Regions from separate parts of the Homo sapiens genome. Here region 1 is linked to region 2. The links are contacts of gene promoters, found by promoter capture Hi-C in human tissues and cell types (Jung and others, 2019). All regions are on one chromosome and are shown on one strand. The core of a region is centred on a gene start or on the middle of the fragment in contact, and the rest is flanking DNA. Distances in the headings are between cores, read along the strand shown. Region 1 overlaps TRAIP (TRAF interacting protein). Region 2 holds the start of MST1R (macrophage stimulating 1 receptor).

Region 1 (5,429 bases), core at 1,810-4,309, 62 kb after region 2:
CTTGGAGGAAAGTCGACTATGAATCAGGAAGACCCAGGGTGGAGAGGAGGAGTAGTCGCCCAAGGTCCTTGGCCATTCCTATTGTGTGTCCCTGGTGAGTCAGCTGATGCCCAGAGGGAATGAGACCAACATAGAGCGATGAGGCCAAGGAAGTGATAGAAACTTCTGCTATGGAGACTGATCACAGGGGCCCTACTTTAACTTCCCTTCCACTATTCTACCTCTTTACCTGTCCTGGGGCCTTGCCCCTGAGATTGTTTTCCTCCATCTTACCTACTTTTCAAAAGGGCACATAGAGCTACAGCAGTGCTTATCTTTCCATTGTTAGCTTAGCTTGGCCTTGAGGCACTGCAGGATTCATGCCCTAGAAGGCCTCATTGTTCAATCCTGGGGCTCCCCACAGCCTTATGGGAGACCACGTGGAGGTCAGCTATGATGCTTTCCTGCTGCTTATTGTGGGTATTGCCTTTCAGAATGAACTGGACAATGTCAGAGCCCAGCTTTCCCAGAAAGGTGAGTTAGCAAGAGACGAGGGGTGCTGGGAAGCCCCTGACTTGGATGCTGGAGGAAGGGGGCCCTAGGAGGAAGGTTTCAAACCGTTTGGGAGAGCCAGGGCCTTTCCCTGCTTTGTATGTCCAAGAGTCCTGCTAGCTGTTGTGGTGGGCAGAAAAAGAGAGGGAAGGGAGGTGACTGAAGCTGTTCACCTAGACCAGGTGAGCCTCTTGTCTCTGAGTGCAGCTTCTTGCCCAGGAACCAAGATGGGAGGGGGTTACCTGATGGGACTGAATATCTTCGGGAGAGGGCTCAGCTGCTGAGTTTGGCTGGAACCTGCTTGAGTCCTGGGTTGATGAACTAACTGGACCCATGGCAGGTAGGGAATGGGCAGTAAAATATTTTCCTAAGTAGTTCAAGCAGCAGAAGGTGGGCTTTTCCCTGAATGAAGGCTCTGGCTCAGCTTCTCTGGTTTGGCACATCCCAGAGAAAGAAGCGGGCCACCCAGCTTTCAGGCCTGAGCCTTGTTTCTCACCTGCCTAAGGGATGAGGCACTGAATCCAAGGGCCCAAGTTCTTCTGCTGATGGATGGACAGGCCTTTCCCTTTCCTCCGCCCTCTACCCCTGCTCCAGACAAGGAGAAACGAGACAGCCAGGTCATCATCGACACTCTGCGGGATACGCTGGAAGAACGCAATGCTACTGTGGTATCTCTGCAGCAGGCCTTGGGCAAGGCCGAGATGCTGTGCTCCACACTGAAAGTAGGTCCTCAGGTTTTATGGGTACAGAATTCATAGGGAGGTATTGCCCCAGAACTGGACTCCCCATTCTGGGCTTATCTTCTGGTTCTGCTCCAGTCATCACCTTGGTTTGGGGAGTTGTAAAATAGAGGCAAATCACTTCTTCCCCTTGCCCTTCCATACTGTACCCATCCATCCCATAAGAAAAGGGCCATATTGGCTATACTTGTGGGTTTTGTACTAGGTAGTTTGAAGAGTCAAGGCCTTCCCAGTACCTCACAGAGGGGATGCTCAACTAAGACCTCAGTGAGGCTGGGCCATATTTCCGAAAGTGGTTCATACTCTACTGATGAGGCCAGCCTGAAGAACCTTCCATTAGCACTCTAGTCCTTGGCTGGGCTGCTCTCCTGAGCCAGATCAAACAGCATCCTAGGGAGGAGCAAGGGCCTTTGAAGTCAGCTGTGCTGAGCTGACCAACCAGATCAAAGTCTGCAGAGTGAACAGCCTTAGACCCAGATGAATTTTGCATCAGCCTGGGTTGGTGAGCCTCTTGCTCTCCAAGGGGCATGAGAGGCGATTGATCTGAACCCACGATTGATATTCTGGCCTTGTAGGCAGGAGCAGTCCTTGCTGGATGCCATTTGAAAGGGAAAGGGAGCCATCCTTGTGAACAGACAAGGCCCCAGGATATTCATTGTCTCTGTTCCTGCTTGGGGGCTGGGCTGGATCACATGGTCTGGCTGGTGGGAGGGAGCAAACTGGCACCTGGCTGCAGAGCAGGAGTCTCTCATGGTATTCTCAGGTCAGAGACAAGTGGTCTTAGGCTGAAGGCAGCCTGGCCAGCTTCCCCTGGCTCAATTATTCATTCTTGGCAACTGTCCATGGGTCTGGGTGTTGGATGGTGAGGCCTGGGTTTGTGCTCTGGACTTCTTCAGCCACCTGCACAACATGTACCATGAGGCCCAGACCACTGGACCTTGGCAGCCCACAGTGGGCCTGTAAATGCTGGCAGTGGGCTGTGTCTACTGTAAGATACCTTTCAGGAGGAAGCAGGCAGGGAGGTGAAGAAGCAGCTGGCTTAGAGCCTTTTAGAAGAAGAAGCACAAGCGAGAGTGGGACCCAGGAGCTTTACCTCCTGGGGTTTGGGAGTACATGGTTATCAGCATTTTCAAAACATAAGCTGCAGAGAGTTCTGGAGCAGAGTTTTCCTAGTGACTTTAGCAATGGCTCCTGAGGGCCTCCAAGCATCAGGTATGGGTGTATTTGCTCTTCAGAAGCAGATGAAGTACTTAGAGCAGCAGCAGGATGAGACCAAACAAGCACAAGAGGAGGCCCGCCGGCTCAGGAGCAAGATGAAGACCATGGAGCAGTGAGTTTGGAGCTGGGTCCTGCACTGTGCCTTTGCCCCCAGGGCCTGCAAGTGGTACAGTTCTTAGGACTGCAGCAGGGAGTGGGATTGGGTCATGTCCGAGGCTCAAATCTCCATAGGCCATGGAGGGCTCAGGTCAGCTGGGTGTGGGCACAGATCTTAGCCTCTATGAACTCTTCCCCCATTCCAAGGAATGGGAGCCCTTGCCACATTCCTCCCTGTCTCTGCTGCCTGTGGCCAGATGACCTGGTGGGTCTTTCCTTCCAGAAACCTCTCTCCAGGAAATCCCTGACCTTGAGACCCTCTTTCAGCACCTCTTCTTTCTCAGCAGCATCCTTGGAGCTATGCTCATCTCTGCCACAGGGCCTTTCCTTGGGCACACCCACCTACTAAAGCATCCTGGCAGCCTAGCCTGTTACCTTAGCAACGGCAGCAAAGGAAGGCAGAGCGGCACTGGGTACCTACCCATCAGCCTCCAGATTGCAAATGCCGTGGGCTGGGTGTATTTTTCAGGATTGAGCTTCTACTCCAGAGCCAGCGCCCTGAGGTGGAGGAGATGATCCGAGACATGGGTGTGGGACAGTCAGCGGTGGAACAGCTGGCTGTGTACTGTGTGTCTCTCAAGAAGTGCGTACTGTGGCCCCTCTCAGCAAACACAGGAGATAGGCCATGGGGCCCCAGCCGTGTCATTGCTCCCCATCTCTTGTAAAGCAGATGGAACTAAGGGGCAAACTCTGGAGCCATGCTGCCTTTGTTTGAACCCTGATTCCACCTTTCAGCAACTATGTGGCCTGCTGCCAGTTTCTTGGCCTCTTTGACCCTCAACTTCCTGAATGGAAATAGTAGTAGACCTGCCTCATAGGATTGTTGAGGATTTAGTGTGAATCTTAAGTGCTGTTTCTAAGGGAGTTGACCTAGCTCTCTGGGCTATAAGCCCCATTGTGATTGATATGTAGAGCCTGTTCCCCATTAGCACTATGATCCTGCCTGGCTGGGATCAAACTCTACTCATATTCTTCACTCTGGTGGGTGTAAGGTTGGCAGGAAGGGTGGAGGGCCACTTAGCTGAGAGGCATAGAGGGTCCAAGATGCCTCCTTTAAGACCAGGTGGTTTAGGGAGCCCCCTAGTGAGACTGGGGCTTTCTGCATGCCCTCTCAAGTCACCAGTGCCTGCAGGACAGGCAGGAGGAAATAGTCACTTCCTTGCATTCTCTGCAGGACCCTCCACAGTGCCACCTGGTACTTGTTGGGCTCAGGTGTCAAAGTAGGAATGAGAGTGAGTTGAGGGGTTGGGCAGTGCTTTGTGTTAGATTAGTGCTGTGGCTCAGTCTGACCTGCAGGTGTTCTTTTCTGGCATCTCTTTCCATGGCCACATTGCAGAGAGTACGAGAATCTAAAAGAGGCACGGAAGGCCTCAGGGGAGGTGGCTGACAAGCTGAGGAAGGATTTGTTTTCCTCCAGAAGCAAGGTAACTTAGCAGTGAACAGAGGTTGAAGGAGAAGTGGCTCTCCTTTTGTCATGTTCACTCTGGTCTCCTGAGCAAGGCCATGGGACCTGATGGCACAGCTGACTCCCTGGGGCAGCTGGAGGACTTACAGAAATTTGTTACCAGTCCTTACTGGGCATTGGCCTGAATATGTGGCTTGTCCACTAGGGGTGGACAGATCACAGAGGTATCCCCCAACATGTGGACACTGATGCTCCCCTCTGCTCTTCCTGGCTCCTGGGTACCTCTCAGCTGGCTGGAGAGCACAGGCCTCAAATGTGACAGCATCAGAGGCCTATTTTTGTACCACATCTGGAGTAGAAGGGCTCCTGGAACCTGATTCGGTCAGCACAGCTGCTTTTACTTCTGGCATGGTGCATCCACAGGCTGCAGGATGTAGGAAGCAGCCTTTGCTTCTAGGCAGCTCCGGATGTGCATTGCCAGACTGAGGCCTAGCCTCAGAGAGCTGGGATCTCTGCCCATATCTCTAGTCTCTTCTGGGCTACCTTGATCACTCCCTGGGGAGCAGCAGGAGGGGGCAGGGCACAAGGCTACCACTTGGCTTGTCTTTCATTCCCTACACTTTCTTATAGTTGCAGACAGTCTACTCTGAATTGGATCAGGCCAAGTTAGAACTGAAGTCAGCCCAGAAGGACTTACAGAGTGCTGACAAGGAAATCATGGTGAGGGACATCCCTGGCTTGACAGGAATGAGGGGTGGTTTGTGTGCCCTCCCAGAGCAGGGCTGGGCTATCTCTGCCCAGGACCCTTGCACCAGTCAGTGGTGGTTCTGGGCCCCTGCATCCTCCTGGGTCAGGGTGTGCCCCTTGGCCCTGGTCCGGACTGGAGCCTGGGCCTCCTCAACAGAGGGCAGACAGAACCATGAGTCTTCCCTCATAGTCTGTCCTGCACTTACATCCCTGAGGTCCCTTATCAGAGGAGGGGCTCTACCTGGGGCTTGGCCTCCTGAGCCTAATGATGAGGTATCAGGCCTTGCTCTGTTCCCAGTGGGCTGGCCTTTCATGCATGCTGCTCATGTCCTCTGCATTATCTCCGGACTTGATGCCTCAGCCTTTCTCTCACACACTTTTCTTTCCCTCCCCAAGAGCCTGAAAAAGAAGCTAACGATGCTGCAGGAAACCTTGAACCTGCCACCAGTGGCCAGTGAGACTGTCGACCGCCTGGTTTTAGAGAGGTTTGTTGAGCCTTGGGCGGTACAGGGGTCACAAGGTGGGAGAGCTTTCTGGTAACAGTCTTTACTCCTCCTGGCTTTGGTGGGGTGGGTGACCTCTGTGGACCTGATGTCTGCAGACAGCCTGCCCTGGGAGCCAGCCAAGATTTA
Region 2 (5,336 bases), core at 2,259-4,758:
CCTAGGAGTGTGGGGTGTACCTGCTTGGAGATCAGGGGTGGGAAGACAGACAAATAGGGAAGGTGTTCGTAGTGGAAGAGCCAGCATGTGCAAAGGGAAGGACCTGGTAAGAACCTAGTACAGGCCGGGCATGGTGGCTCACGCCTGTAATCCCAACACTTTGGGAAGCCAAGGATTGTATATCACTGGAAGTCAGGAGTTCCAGACCAGCCTGGCCAACATGGTGAAACCCTGTCTCTACTAAAAATACGAAAATTAGCTGAGTATGGTGGCGTGCGCCTGTAGTCCCAGCTACTCAGGAGGCTGAGGCAGGAGAATCGCTTGAACCCAGGAGGCAGAGGTTGTAGTGAGCCGAGACTGCGCCACTGCACTCTAGCCTGGGCGACACAGTGAGACTCCGTCTCAAAAAAAAAAAAAAAAAAAGAACCTAATATAACTTGTTTGCAGTGAAGCTGGAGTGGTCCACACAAGGGCTGGGGTTCTCAAACTCCAGGTAACCTGCAGTGTGATGTGGTCATATTACAGTTAGAGAGACTCCCTTGCTACTGCTAAGGTGATCTTGGGATTAGAGAAAGAGGTTAGACCTAGTTCTCTAGAACAGTGTTCAGAGGGGACTGAGAGCTCAAGGAGGGAAAAGTGGCTAGTATTCCTTCAAGGCGTCAGGTGCTAGGGCAGTCGAGCAGGTTCTTAGCCAGCTATGTTAGCTTGGGGGTGCCCTTGTACTTGGCACTTAAGAGTCCCATTAGCTGACCTCCCCCACACACCTTGACTGCCCCCTCCTATAGAGGCGGCAGATGGCGAGAGGGGGAAGGGGTGCTCCTGTGTACCCCTGCTGTTGAGAACCAAGGCTGCCTTACAGGGGACCTCAGCCTGGGGACAGCCATTAGCGCGGCCACACGGTGGCAGCGGAGAACTAACGGATGGTTGCCGCAACACCACCCCCAAAAAGGGGTGGGTGGGGTGATCTAAGAGGGCTTGTGAAGTCTTCTCCCAACCACCAGAGATCCCTCTGAAAGTCTGGAGGTGGGATTTGGGTCACCAGAACCCCTGTCTGTGCGCCAGGCTGAGAATGTTTCATTTTAGTTTTGCCTTGCCTATCTTTAGATGTGTTGACTGTGGAATGCAGGAACCACGCCACGGTTTTCTCCGGGTGTTTATTCATTTCCTGGCCAATTCTGCTTTGGAAAAGGAGTGTCTTTTATGTCACCTCAGGGCACAGTATCAACCCTGCACTGGGTGTGGCCGCCCCCACTTCCATTTCCTCTTTCAGTCTTCAGGTGCTCATGGAGCTCCAGGCTGGAAGGAGGGGGAGTCCTGCACTGGGGATGGAGGAAGTGAAGTATCCAGAGTAAACTGTGCTGGGGTGAGTGTAGCACTGGGTCTGTGAGACCCAGGAGAGGGGACTGGCAAAGTCTGGATCAAAAAGGCTTCCTGGAGGAGGTGCCATTTAGGTGGCAAAAGGAGAAAAGGGAAAGAGTGCTCCTGGAAGGAGGAACAGCACTTACAAAGGTCAGGTTAGGAAGGGGATGCAGGCACAGAAGTATGAACTGAAAGGGGAGTGAGGAGATATAGCTCCCCAAGCCAGGCTAAATCCTGTTGGGCTGAGGGCTCCTCTCTCCCCCAGCCTCCTTATCTACAGCCTTGGGGCCCATAGTTCACAGCCCAGACCCACCCTGTGGACCTTCCCTGTCTTCTAGGGTCCAGGCCTATCTAACTGAGGGGTCTGTCAGGCTAAGGTTGTCCCCCAGGGGCCTCAGTCTAGTGTTGGGGGACCAGTTACCAAGGGGCAGCTGCTGAGATCCAAGTGTGGGACTAGGCTCCCCCACCCCCACTCCTCATAAACAGAAGAGAGAACTCTGGGAAATCACCTAGTCGGAACTACGTTTTCTTTTTCTTTTTTTGGAGATGGAGTCTCGCTCTGTCACCCAGGCTGGAGTGCAGTGGCACAATCTCAGCTCACTGCAACCTCCACCCCCTAAATTCAAGCTATTCTCCTGCCTCAGCCTCCCTAGTAGCTGGGATTACAGGCACCCACCACCACGCCCGGCTAATTTTTGTTTTTAGTGGAGATAGTTTCACCATGTTGGCCAGATCTGTCTGTTCACCATGTTGGTCTTGAACTCCTGACCTCAAGCGATCCACCCGCCTCGGCCTCCCAAAGTGCTGGGATTACAGGCGTGAGCCACCACGCCCGGTCACATATTTTATTTTAAAAACATTTTTAGCAGTTTTTTTGTTTTGTTGAGTTTTGTTATGTTGCCCAGGCTGGTCTTGAACTCCTAACCTCAAGCAATCCTCCTGCCTTGGCCCCTCAAAGGAGTGCTAGGATTACAGGCATGAGCCACGGTGCCCAGCCCAGAACTACATTCTCATTGAAGAGAATAAGATCCAGCAAGGCCTACAGAGCATGTTGGAAGTGTCCTGAGAGCCAAAGCCCATGATTCCTCCATATCAGGGGGGCACTGGGTAGAGCCAGGAAGGAAGGGGGAGTCCCCAAGGCCCATACTGTGGACCCCATTATACAGCTTCCATATACTGAGGCTGCAGAGGAGGTATGGGCCTCCACTTACGTGCCTCTCTGACTCTGAGGTCCAGTCAGCAAGGCCAGATCCCATCCTAAGACCCTTATGGCCCTGGGAGAGCAGGGCATAACACACCTTCCTCTGACACCATCTTGTCGCTGATAGCTCAGGAGAAGCACATGGAAGAATGGTCCCGGCCGGGCGCGGTGGCTTACGCCTGTAATCCCAACAGTTTGGGAGGCTGAGGCGGGCGGATCACCTGAGGTCAGGAGTTTGAGACCAGCCTGGCCAACACTGTGAATCCTGTCTCTACTAAAAATACAAAATTAGCCGGGTGTGGTGGTGCGCGCCTGTAATCCCAGCTATTCAGGAGGTTGAGACAGGAGGAGGTTGAGGCTGGAGAATCGCTTGAACCTGGGAGGCGGAGTTTGCAGTGAGCCGAGATCGCGCCACTGCAATCCAGCTTGGGCCACAGAGCAAGACTCCTTCTCAAAAAAAAAAAAGGACAGTCCTTTCCCACAAAGGGTGGCGCCCCATAACATCTCTTGTAAGTGCCCCACATCTCCCCTCTGGTCTTCCACACAATCCTGGTCTCTGTTCTCCACATGGTGGGCCCCCAGGCCACCTCTGGGCACCAGCCACTGAGGGTGTTGCTACTAAGTGCAAACTAGTTCCACCGCAAGCAAAGAGCCCAGTGTCCTGCCCCCCTTCTCGCTGCGAACCAGTCGGTAGTGGGGGGATGGGATGGGACGGCTCAGACTGGCTCACCTCTCTCCAGGCCACACCATGCACATCCACCCACAGGCCGCTGAGAAAAAGGCGCCAAGACGCCAGGTGAAGGTACAGGAGCCAGGCCTCCAAGGGCCGGAAGAGTCGGATGGGCGGAGGGCCTGGGCTAGGCCAAGCCTTCCTCGCGGCCCCGCCCCCACGGCCCGACTCCGCCCGCCCAGCCCGGCGCCCTCGGGTCGGCTGAGCGCTAAGCGCCAGTGTACAGCGGCGGCTGGGGCGGCAGGTGAGGCGGCTGGGGCGTTGCTGTCGTGCGTCCGCAGGCGTCAGGTGCTCAGACCCGAGGGCCGGGAAGGGATTTGGGTTTCACAGGAACCTGGGGCGGGGGTCCGCTATCTTGGGGCTGTCGGGACCGCTGCTTAAATTTGGCCCAGTCCAGACCTCGAGTCGGGCCCCCAGCCAGGCCCACGCCCAGGTCCAGGCCCAGGCCGGTAGGGATCCTCTAGGGTCCCAGCTCGCCTCGATGGAGCTCCTCCCGCCGCTGCCTCAGTCCTTCCTGTTGCTGCTGCTGTTGCCTGCCAAGCCCGCGGCGGGCGAGGACTGGCAGTGCCCGCGCACCCCCTACGCGGCCTCTCGCGACTTTGACGTGAAGTACGTGGTGCCCAGCTTCTCCGCCGGAGGCCTGGTACAGGCCATGGTGACCTACGAGGGCGACAGAAATGAGAGTGCTGTGTTTGTAGCCATACGCAATCGCCTGCATGTGCTTGGGCCTGACCTGAAGTCTGTCCAGAGCCTGGCCACGGGCCCTGCTGGAGACCCTGGCTGCCAGACGTGTGCAGCCTGTGGCCCAGGACCCCACGGCCCTCCCGGTGACACAGACACAAAGGTGCTGGTGCTGGATCCCGCGCTGCCTGCGCTGGTCAGTTGTGGCTCCAGCCTGCAGGGCCGCTGCTTCCTGCATGACCTAGAGCCCCAAGGGACAGCCGTGCATCTGGCAGCGCCAGCCTGCCTCTTCTCAGCCCACCATAACCGGCCCGATGACTGCCCCGACTGTGTGGCCAGCCCATTGGGCACCCGTGTAACTGTGGTTGAGCAAGGCCAGGCCTCCTATTTCTACGTGGCATCCTCACTGGACGCAGCCGTGGCTGCCAGCTTCAGCCCACGCTCAGTGTCTATCAGGCGTCTCAAGGCTGACGCCTCGGGATTCGCACCGGGCTTTGTGGCGTTGTCAGTGCTGCCCAAGCATCTTGTCTCCTACAGTATTGAATACGTGCACAGCTTCCACACGGGAGCCTTCGTATACTTCCTGACTGTACAGCCGGCCAGCGTGACAGATGATCCTAGTGCCCTGCACACACGCCTGGCACGGCTTAGCGCCACTGAGCCAGAGTTGGGTGACTATCGGGAGCTGGTCCTCGACTGCAGATTTGCTCCAAAACGCAGGCGCCGGGGGGCCCCAGAAGGCGGACAGCCCTACCCTGTGCTGCGGGTGGCCCACTCCGCTCCAGTGGGTGCCCAACTTGCCACTGAGCTGAGCATCGCCGAGGGCCAGGAAGTACTATTTGGGGTCTTTGTGACTGGCAAGGATGGTGGTCCTGGCGTGGGCCCCAACTCTGTCGTCTGTGCCTTCCCCATTGACCTGCTGGACACACTAATTGATGAGGGTGTGGAGCGCTGTTGTGAATCCCCAGTCCATCCAGGCCTCCGGCGAGGCCTCGACTTCTTCCAGTCGCCCAGTTTTTGCCCCAACCCGGTAAGCTGAAAGAAGGGGCCCTTACTTGTGAGCTGCATGCACATGGCTGAACACAGGCTGCTTCCCTTCCATCACTGAGGGGATCTGGGGGCGCGGTGGGGGGGCAGGCGGAAAGAAGCATTCTCTCTCACCCAGTTCCTAAGTGCTGGGGTGGTGTGAGAAACCAGCCAGACAAAGGCTACACTGGAGGCTTAGCTCCCAGGCTGGCCCTTGTGGCTGCCTCATCTTGCTCTTTCCCCTACCTGCCCATCATGGCCTCTGGTTTTTTAGGTAGTTTCCCTGGCTATGTGAGGATAGGGTTACATAACCGTGTCTCTGTTAGCATAGCTCCTGAA

What was found. Contacts are between HindIII fragments. The study calls those that stand out against the background at their distance.
Region 1: a contact is called between a fragment that was not itself captured here and the fragment with the promoter of MST1R in region 2, in 4 of the 25 tissues and cell types used here (lymphoblastoid cells, neural progenitor cells, spleen and 1 more).

The regions. Positions count from the first base shown.
Region 1 is chr3:49,839,625-49,845,053 of GRCh38, reverse strand. It overlaps TRAIP (TRAF interacting protein), which reads left to right. Exons shown (of 15, transcript NM_005879.3): 4 at 474-513; 5 at 1,126-1,253; 6 at 2,507-2,601; 7 at 3,115-3,228; 8 at 3,982-4,069; 9 at 4,681-4,770; 10 at 5,194-5,282. Among named protein-coding and RNA genes, the nearest start is that of TRAIP, 14 kb to the left of the region's middle. The HindIII fragment of the contact is 9,996 bases long and covers 1-5,429 here.
Region 2 is chr3:49,902,045-49,907,380 of GRCh38, reverse strand. It overlaps MST1R (macrophage stimulating 1 receptor), which reads left to right and starts at 3,508. Exons shown (of 20, transcript NM_002447.4): 1 at 3,508-5,001. The coding sequence starts at 3,772. RefSeq lists enhancers at 979-1,178, 2,463-3,135, 3,124-3,173, 3,810-4,483, 4,484-5,157 and 1 more and a silencer at 3,364-3,583. The HindIII fragment of the contact is 20,801 bases long and covers 1-5,336 here.